Regions from separate parts of the Homo sapiens genome. Here region 1 is linked to region 2. Evidence: promoter capture Hi-C in human tissues and cell types (Jung and others, 2019). All regions are on one chromosome and are shown on one strand. The core of a region is centred on a gene start or on the middle of the fragment in contact, and the rest is flanking DNA. Distances in the headings are between cores, read along the strand shown.

Region 1 (5,249 bases), core at 1,494-3,993, 390 kb after region 2:
GATGAAATTCAGAAAGGCCAGAGTGATAATTCCCAGGTCTGTGGGCCATGGTGTAAAGTATCTCCCTCACACCATTCTGTGCATGATGGTGTGAGGTACTGCAGAAGACTGAGACCAGAAGAACTACTGAAATTTGACATTAGAAAATTGTGGTTGCACTGAATACCATGGACAATTAAAAAAATTTTTTTTTAATTCTAAGAGGAACTTGGAGAAAAAAGATGAAGTTTTTTTCTGGAAGTTTTATCCCAGAAAACAGAAAAGAAATCAAACCACAAATACTTCACACTCTAAAGAAAATTTTAACAGAATATGACTCCATAAGAAATTTTAAAGAAAGATAAATTTGTAACAGAAGAAACTAAAATGAAAAGAGTCAAGGAAAAAAATACCTTTTGGCTACTATGAATAATGCTGCTATAAACACTGGAGAAAAAATACTTGTTTGAGTCTCTGCTTTCAATTCTTTTGGATATATAACTACAAGTGGAATTGCTGGATTATATGGTAATTCTATGTTTAATTTTTTGAGGAACTGACATATTGTTTTCACATTAAGTGTACCATTTTACATTCCCACTAGTATAAGATTCCAATTTTTCTACATCCTCTCCAACACTTATTATTTTGTTGTTTTTTAATAATAGCTATCCTAAGGGACTCAGAATATATTTTTAATGAGTCACTGACAAATTCACAAATCCCTTTATCTCAGATTTACTCATAAAAGGATTAGAGGTACAATATTTGTCTGGAGAAAGACCTTTTCCACTGCATAAAAACGCTCACATTGGCTATCTAACATGTGGCCCCAGCATCATTAGCAACATACTCAAAGCAATTAAGCCAACAGGCTTGAACCACTGCTTCTCTGACTGGTACAGATCTGTCTCTAACTGCTTTAAGAACTAACTATTCTAACTAATGGAAAAAAACATCTGTAAAAAAAAAAGCTACAAATGGGGATGGCGGGGGATGGGGAGACAGGCTGTAATGCCAGATATCTTTGTTCCTATCTTCATCTGCTAAAAAGGTGAGTCAATCCATTTACCTTAGTCAGGATTAGAAGAGCTAGGAGGGGATATAGATAAAGAAGGAAATTAATTGCTTTAATTGTCAGCTTGTGTTAACATATATATCTCTAAATCCCCATTTCAACTCTTATTTTTTGTGGAACCATCAAGCTTTTCCCCCCTTTTAAAATTTTGGAATCCATTCATCTTTCCTTGCCACAAAACAGTCCTGTGCCAGAATCTGGTTCTTTTCTCAAGGGTATAACATTTCAGCTTGTTATAAACAGCATATGGATATAGATTATGTAATGATAATGTGTGCTACATTCCAAGGACTTACATTTTCTGCATATATGTGAATAGCAAGTAATTTTGCATTGATTTTTTTCTACTCTCAAAATAATATACTAATCAACTAAAACATTAACTTGGTGTATTCCTTTGTGTTTTATAGACAGAATCCCTTCTTTTATTGATTTAAAAGTTTAAAAAAGTTATGTGTTGAAGGAGCCATAATACAAATAATATATAACTACCTAGCTTTTGGGGTAAAATTTTAGATTTGTTCTTAAAGAAACCAAAGATACTGAAGTCCAGTGAAAGATTTCCTAATAACCAACTTCCGAATAATTTGTTAGTGTCAATATTCTACTAGCCTTACATTTTGTGTTTGTCCCATGCTGTTTGAATGTAGCCAAATAGCACATCCAGACTTAGACTTCAGTCTCTTCTGTGCATACTCAGCTACTGCCATTTATAAACAGAAGAGTTAGGCATTATCTTTTAAAACACACAAAGACTTGTGCATGCAGATGAAGCTCTGCACATAAGCGGAGTGTGTATTATAATAATCACTAAGAATTTCTGAAACTCGCATGTCAAAAAGTATCATGTTCACTTCCCAGGATTTTTCAAATAGGAACACACAATGGTTCTGGCTTTCCACTATAACCTGACTTTCACCTCCTTCAAAAAGAACTTTAAAAAAAGAAGAAGAAGAAAAAAGTAAAAGGATATCTGAAGACATTTCTCATCGATAGCTACATGGTCCAGTATATTTGTAATTCTATCCCCTTTTCCTTTATACCAAACGAGTGATGAAAACCTGACAGGAAAGGCAAGAAACATACTAACATTAAATCGCTGGGATGTATTCACAGAAATAGACAGAAACGGGCCTAAGTAGGCACAAAAAAATTAATGCTGGAAACTGTATAGGCAGCAAGTGAAAACCTCTCTGTCATGACAGGAGGAGGTTAAAAAGTTTAAGAAAATTTCTGAATAAAATTACTAAGACTAAAGCAATGAAAGAGATTGATTTTTCAATTTTCTTGAAAAACAGGAGTCAACCTGTGACCCAGCTCCCCAGGTATTACATGCAGGCCTCAGGAATACAGTCATTTAGGAAGTAACTGCTTCAAAGAGTCCAGCTAAAACTACAAAGACGTGAAATTCCAATCAGACACCAGAAATTCTTTGGGGAATAAAAGAATTTTATGACTCATAAGATGAAAATCTCCTGAATACTCACTAAAGTAATCTAATGAAGTATTGTCACTAGGAAAGGAGTTTGATGAATTTATGTGTTATGTAGGCAAATTTTAAGCAAAACAAGAAATTGAGCAAACTTGAACTTGTATTCATTTCTAAGTTTTCCTCTCAGGGTAAAACTAACTTTAAGGGCACCAGACTTGCCTGTATGAAGTGGCATTCTGTAGGATGTCACATTTTTAACTTCTAGGATTCTAAGCAAAATTTCACATCCATTTTTAAAAACTAGAACAGGTCAGCTTAGGAGTAGGTCCAGGATTCAAATGTGAGTCATTTTGAAGGTTCTTAGTCTTCAAATTTAATACAATTTGAAAGAAGCTATAAGAATTGAAGGCAAAGGCTTAAGACAGATGCCAACGTAATAAGAAAGAAGGAGGTCAAGTTTTTCCTGAGGAAATTAACAAACAACAAAAACTAGAGATGCGATCATTTTCTTGACTTTCAGATGATGCTTAAGCATAGGAGAAAATCAACACCAAGGAGGCTACCCTGACCTTACTACTTTTTCCATTTATTTTTAACTTAATTCCAATTCAAAATTTTGCCTGTTCTATATGAAATTCTTTTCTAGTAACAGGCTGTAAAAATACAGCAAGCAATGAAAGCCCTCTGTTTAATCTTTCCCAGGGACAAACAGAGTATAATGTACAATATGTATTATAACTATGTGTTAGATTGCAAATTACTCTTATTTAATTTAGTCTAGTGCTTAGCTTCACCTCTGAAATATCAGTCTGCATCCTTCTATTTTGGTTTGATTCTATAGTCCACTTAAAACAGTAAATGTTTACATTAAAAGGACAAGAGAATGTGTGATGTATTTTAACTGTCAGAAGTGTTGTGAACAGCAGCAGCTGGAAGAAGAATGTGTCGTCCACTTCACTGTTACCCTGAAGCCTTTTAGATTCTTCAAACCAGCACTTACATCCTTCAGTGCTCAGGAAAGAAGGAAGGAAGGAACAAAGAAAGAAGGAAGGAAGGAAAGCAGGCAATTCAATTGTCATCTCTGAAAAAAAAATGTAGTAAAATTTCTAGAATTTACATGTGATCTTTGCATTGGATTCTACACTAACTTTCTGCTAGTGCAGGGACTGAACTGGTCACTGGAAATGGAGCTCTTCTTTCATTATTTTAGGTTGCTGGATCATACTGAGATAAAAACCAGAAGCAAATGAAACAAGCTCTAAGCTTTACTTAGAGGTCTGTATGAACTGTGCATATCCAGTTCCTCTGCAATCATCATTCACATCATCCTGAATTCATTATGATATAGCTGTTGTTAAAGGCCTACTCATAAGACCAAACACTGAAAACAATTTCCTTCCTTTAATATTTCCAGATCTGGTAAAATCCCACTAATAAAACTGGAGAGAAATGTATGACACTCTTACTCTTATTGCAGTGGGCCCAGTGGGAACATGGCTGGAGAGAAATGAAGCCTAAGGATATGCTGGAGGATAAGGACAAAATATGCAGAATTTGATTTCAGGCTTGACACATTCAGTTCAAGAAATATTTGAAGGTGGACAAAAACCTGCATGATCCAACTCCTGCCTACCTCTCCAAACACATCTCAAACCACTCTTCCCCTTGTGCTTCAACCACACTGGTCTTCTCTTGGTTGCCGTAACATATCAAATACTTGCTTTCTCTTCTGCTTTGAACACTCCCCCAAGCTCTTTGTGTGGTTGTATTCTCATACTTTCGACCTTGGCTCAGATATCACCTCCTCAGTAGGCTTTCCCTGAAATGCCTATTTAAATGAGCGTCTCCCTCCACCTACCACCATCATTCCCTATCATGGGATCAACAATATCAAAGGGTTAAATAGATCCTTTCTATTTCCTGCATAGCTCCTATCAAATATCATCCCATTTATTTGTTTCCTTGTTTAGTAACTCCTTAATAGCAGGAGCCCTGTCTGTTTGCCACTGTATCTCCTGTCCCTAAGGCAGTAGATATTGACTTAATGGATGTGTTTAAAACTATACTAGAGGCCAAGGGTAAAACAAGAGGCAACCATACAGTCCCACCCTCAAAAAAATTATAAAGACAATAGAGACTGGTAAGTAATCATAAGAGAGCTGTTTTACAAGGGGCATATAATTCTAGTAGAAAGAAACCCCATGTCTATCTTATGGGGAAAAAAAGGATATTCCAAGGGAGGACACCCCATATGTAGGGGCACGAAACAACAATAACAGCACAATGCATTCTGGGGAATTAGTTTAGCGTTTTCTAAAATACCAATTGCTAAAGATGGGGGTGGGAAGTAGAGAAATTGAACATAGACAGAGAAAGGTCTAGGTCATGAAAGCCTTTGATTGCATGCAAAGGGAGGGATATTTCATCCCATAGTCAATTAGAAGCCCTTGGAAAAACTCTGGGCAGAGGGGTTACATGATTAGATTTGCTAGTGCCAATAATGTCGTACTCCTGTTTGTAAACTTATTTTAAAAACTCACTTAATTAAGGAAGGGCCTGAGTCTATGCTGTACCATATATACTCAATGCCCAGTCCATTAGAGCAAGTGTTGAATTGGTGTTTAAAAGAATAAATGAATAATAGGGATGTAACCACAATGGCAGAGTAGGAGATATCAGCTTTCTCCCTTTAGCACCCCCAAAATAAACATAGACAGCTATCTCCAAACAAAATAACCCCAGAGAGTCCCCAAGATCCTA
Region 2 (5,180 bases), core at 2,617-5,116:
ACCCGTTTTAAGGTTCAAATTATTTGGTGGCTGTTTGTTTAAAAACAACACTGTTAAGTATCTTCATAAACTTTTTATGCTGAGCATCTGCTTACAAAAAAGGTTAACTCGCATCTAACTAATGTTAAATGTAAGAAATGAGTCTTGTGTTACCCAGTTGGGACAAATTCCTGGCTGCGGAGTTAGAATGGGAAAGTTACAGGCAGGCTCCTGTAGTCAGTCATTGATGAAGTTAGGAGAGCTTGACTTGAGAAATCTCACCTTTTGAGCTGCTTTAGAGGGACTCTTGTTTTTGCTGCCTTTGGGTCTTCCCCTGGGTCTCTTAGGAGAGGGCTCACCGGTTGGTTCCTAATTGTGAGGGAAAAAAAAATGCTGTTGTGGCAAGAATGTCTGAAAGAAATTGACCCTGACTCTTTAGCTATATTTTCTGCATGTGCTGCTCAAAAGAGCTGTTGGAACACGTTCAGTTCAAGCATAAATGGATGATGATGGTACAGAGTTTACAGAAAGGGGAAATAACTATACTTTTAATGCAAGGGTTCAAAGAGGAAACTCTATTTTGTATATGAAAACTAGATTCTACTTCAAACCTAAAATGGTAACAAAGACTGAAGAGGCATGTTCTAGAAAGAAAGTCATATACTTTTAAGGTGTAAAGTTTACAGGGCTATGCATTTGGCAACTCATAGGAATAATAGGCATTTTAAACGAACACCACTCTGCATTATACTAGCATTTCAAACAACAGAAATACGAAGCTACCATCACAGATATTTCAACAATCTTCCATATTGAAAAGGTGGCCTTTAATCATCTTTGTATACCTGCCTTCTAGGTGGATTATGATTCAACTGACACATTTTGAGTGAAATACTGGAGCAATTATTCAAGTTCTTCAGTTCAAAATAACTCCATTCCCCCTAAAATTTCCAAATAATTATAGTAAATCTATGGTGGGAGGTTTTGCTTGAATCATCTAGTTAATTGCTTCAATTCTCCACTTCCTTTTGGAGATGCAGGCATGGCCTCCAGTCTAAATTTAAATATCTTTTGATAAAAATAAACATATTTTCTTCAAAACTTTCTTTTGAGAAAACTCTTATGGGGGTGGAGTGGAGAAAACTAAAAGGAGGTAAAAGCGAGGAGGAATGGAGTGTCTGGGAATGAGAAATGGAAGCAATCACTTGGTTTAGCAAAACTTTAAATGGCTCCTATGCCAAGTAGTAAATACTCAAGTGGTTAAGAGAATGCGATGATTAATATTCCAGATCCCAAATATTTATCCAGTGAATCATCTATTCACATTTCATTCAGATTCGGTGATTAAGTGAGACTAATTAACTTAAAACCCATGAACGTCCTCAATGAAAATTCGCATCCCATTTAGAGAATTCGGGAAGGTTCCCTGCAAGCTTCTGTGGGACCACTAGCACCAGTGGGCACATCGAGAGCAAACACATCGGAGACAAATTTTTCTTTCTTTGTGAACTCTGCCTTAACTCAAAGGTAAAGTATCCAATCACCTCCAGACCCCATTGTAATTTCTTTTGGATTTTTTTTTTTTTTTTGGAGGGGGGGCAATTAGTGAGTTAGAACTGGGTGGCGGGTGGGAAACAAGTGGGGGAGGGCAGAGACTTCCTGGGAGGTGTAAAACAGGATTCAAATGCGGTGTAAAGTGTCGCTTGGGCAGAGCGGGAAAACTCAGGGGCCTCTAGATCGGCTTGTTTCCTTTGATGATTTCAAAAAGGTACAACTCTCAATTTTTCTAAAATGCACTGGCAAGCAAACATTGTTCAGTTTCCCCACCTTGCTCTCGGACAACTTTGGGACTCTAGGATTATTTTCTAATCGGCGTGTTTGCCATGAAGGAAGCGATTTAAGACTAAGCAGAGAGCAAGTTTTAAAGCCCGAGAAAGTGGAGTTTAAATGTTCTCAATAGACATATCCCGCTCCAACTCTGCCCGCCGCGGCTTGGAAATTACAGCGAACAAAACCCCCAGCCCTGCGCGCTGAGCGCAGCTCTGCAAGCGCCGGCTGCACGCTTAATTGGTTGCATCCGCAGACAAAACCCTCCACTCCGCAGGGTCCCGGGCGCCCCTCGATCGTCCCCTACTCAACCCCCGGCCACTGGCCTTGGAGAAGAGCATTTAATGGCTGCAGCTCTGAGGCGCGAGATCCAGGGGCAAAAGGGGGACCGGGCCCCTGACAAGGAAGCGACCCTGGCTACCCTGCACTCTCTTGGACACTCCTTTCAACGCGCCCTTAGCTGGGCGAGTTAACCCCGTCCTGCGGGGAACCAGGCTCCCCGTAGCCCCTGCCCCGGGCTCCCTCCGGCGGCCGCCGCATATTTAAAGAGCCCAAAAAGGACCAGGCAGCCGGGTCTCCATGCGTTCTTTGTCGGGAGGGCGCGAGTCTTGGGCCACCGAGAGCTTGGAGGAGGGCGCCAAGGGGGCGGCTGCGGCGCGCCAGCCCCCGACCCGCGAGCAGCCCCGGGAGGCGGGAGAAAGAGCCTCCGGCCCCCAAGACTCTAGCCCCTTCAGCCCAGATCGGCCGAAGCGCCCGGGTCCCCGGCACCTCCTTCCTCCCGGGCAGTTGCAAAAGCAACTCGGAAAGCGCCTGCGAGCCCGGGTTTGTCGGATCCCGGTCGCTTCCAGTCACTGGGCGACACCGCGCCACTCGGGGCCGTGCACAATAGCGAAAGTCCGAGGACGCGCTTCGCCCGACCCCACCTCCCGCCTTCCCCGGGCCGCCCGCCGCGGCTCCCCACCTCCCCGCCCGGAGGGTTGCTGGCGCCCCGGGGCCGCGCGGCGCACTCGTGGGGTCTGCGCCGCTCCCCCCGGCCGGCCGGCGGGCAGTGTGCGACGGCCGCGGCGACTGGGCTCCCGCACTCCGGCCGCCCCGCGCGTGTCTGGGCCCCGGCAGTGGGGACGGGGTGGGCTGGTGCCCCCACCGCGCCCTCGTACTGACTTGCTGCTGCTTCCTGGGGCGGCCGCGTCCTCTCTTCTGAGGCGCTGGGGCGGCAGGTTGTCCCTGGGCTGAAGTGGACGGCTGCCCCGCGCCCTCACCGCGTGCGCTCATCCTGCCTCCCGCCGCCGCTACCGCCGCTGCAGCCGCTTCGCCTCGACCGCCCCGGAGCTGCCCAGCACCTTTCGGGAGATGAGGTGATAGGGCTGGGGACGCCGGCGGGGCGAGCGCGAGCTGGCGGGCTGCGAGGGCTGCTGTTGCTTAGGCTGCCGCCGCTGCCACCATCAACACCGGACGTCCAGCGGCTGCCAAAAAGAGAAGAGGGGAGGAGGAGGAGGAGAGGAGGAGGCGCTGCCGGTGGCGGCGGCGGCGGTGGGTGGGTGCCGGAGGTGGAGGTGGCGGTGGAGGTGGAGGTAGCAAGAGGAGGAGGGAAGCGAGGGAGAAGGAAGAGAGGCTTTGAGGTCGCAGAGGCTCCTCTCGCGGGTTGGGATCAGGAGTTGCGGGCACCGGGAGCACTTCGGAAGCGGCTTGGAAAGGGAAGAGACTTGGAGTGAATTGTGTCCCTTGAAATGTTAGGCGGGGAAAGAATTCCTCCTCCTCTTCCCCCCACCCTGCGAGAGAGAGAGAGAGAGAGAGAGAGAGAGAGAGAGAGAGAGAGAGAGAGAGAGAGAAGAGATTGAGATTGAAAGTGCCTTGGGCAGTCGGAAAGCAAAGGAGGATGGGGAGACTCCGCCGGGATAGGGTCGGGCACGGAGCACAGGCAGAGGACAGAGTAGTGGGTGGCACCGCGCCTCCTAGGGTGGCGGGAGCAGGCAGCGGCGGCACCGGAGAGTCGGAGGGGGACGGGCTGCTAGCTCCTGAGTCTTGCACCAAGCGCGCGCTGCCCGGGCTGGAAGTTTTCTGAGTTCCTGCCCCAAGATTCAAGTGGGATGAGTGTGTGTGAGTGTGTGTGAGTGTGAGTGTGTGTGGTGTGTGTGCGTGCACGCGCTTGCGCTTGGGGAGGGGGTGGTGGTGGGGGGAGTGCCCACCTCTAATCGTGGGCGGATAAAGGGGAGGGGGTTGCGCAGGAAGAAAAGTATGAGGAGGAGGGAGGCCAGGCGGACCGCCGAGCCAAGGCGCCTGGCTGCTAGCCAGAGGCAGCGTTCGAAATACAACTGCCTCGGCGGCGGCGGCGCCCGGGTGCCACCCGGAGCCCCGCTCACGTGCTCCCGCCCGGCGGCGGGGTTAAAGGGACAGGCCGGGGATCCCGGGCTGGCTCGCCGTGGGCCTAGCTCCACCCGCCTCTCGAGGTCACCCCTGGGCAGTTGTCCTGGGAAGGCGCGGGAACGTGACTGTCCCGGAGCCACGTTTCGGGGCTTGGCCTTTACCTGCGCCTCTACCGTGCCGAGCCAACACTTTGCAGGAAGCGTCTAGGCTGCACCTCAGGCAGCGCACCGGTTCACTGTGAGTGGGAAGGGACTGCAGTGGAGTGGGAGAGGTCCCCTGACAGCCGTACTCCGCCTCGGAATGCCCTCACCACAGAGCCTGCGGGCGGGCGAGCGCGCACATACACGGAGACATGCATGCAGATACACACGAACACGCGTGTAAGCACATGCACGCAGATACACGTGGACACGGGGGCATTCATGCGCTGGTAAACACCCGCATTTACACACACACACATACACACAGGCACGCAGATAGACATGCACATTCGCAGACACATGCAAACAATGTGCACACACAGAGCGCCCCAGCTTCTTCATTGAACTTTTTTCTCCAGGAAAGACTAGAGGCAACCGAAGTTCCCTCCCCATCCCCCTCCCCGGGAATCCGATGTTCCCAGGGTAAAGGGCACCTTGTAGATTCCTAACACCACAATTGCACTCACTGCCCAACTCTCCCTTCAGTTTACCTCGATTTAACCTTCTGCCTGAGAACTCTCTTTCTGCCAAGTCCTAATTTTATGGCCTGGGCTGTTCTGAGTTATGTGAACACCATAATGGCCACAGTCCGTTTTTAAAAGGTGGAGTACATTTTTAAATGTACCTCTTTTCATCCTTGAATAACACAAAACTCTGAAAAAATTAGGTTCAGATTTTCACACATCACACCCAAAATTATTTTGGACTAATTCCAAAATAAAAACTTTCACCTGGGGAAGAATTTATTTTTTTCAAAGATACAGACCACCGTGGAATAAAAACGCCTACTTTGCAGCCCTAAGCAGGAGT

Evidence for each region. Contacts are between HindIII fragments. The study calls those that stand out against the background at their distance.
Region 1: a contact is called between a fragment that was not itself captured here and the fragment with the promoter of HMGA2 in region 2, in 1 of the 25 tissues and cell types used here (thymus).

What each region holds. Positions count from the first base shown.
Region 1 is chr12:65,428,351-65,433,599 of GRCh38, reverse strand. The region is part of intron 5 of MSRB3 (methionine sulfoxide reductase B3); the gene reads right to left. Among named protein-coding and RNA genes, the nearest start is that of MSRB3, 150 kb to the right of the region's middle. RefSeq lists an enhancer at 1,868-3,067. The HindIII fragment of the contact is 5,234 bases long and covers 127-5,249 here.
Region 2 is chr12:65,823,169-65,828,348 of GRCh38, reverse strand. HMGA2 (high mobility group AT-hook 2) reads right to left here and starts at 3,866. Exons shown (of 5, transcript NM_003483.6): 1 at 2,968-3,866; 2 at 262-348. The coding sequence starts at 3,078. It also overlaps the pseudogene RPSAP52. RefSeq lists an enhancer at 2,139-2,746. The HindIII fragment of the contact is 9,780 bases long and covers 1-5,180 here.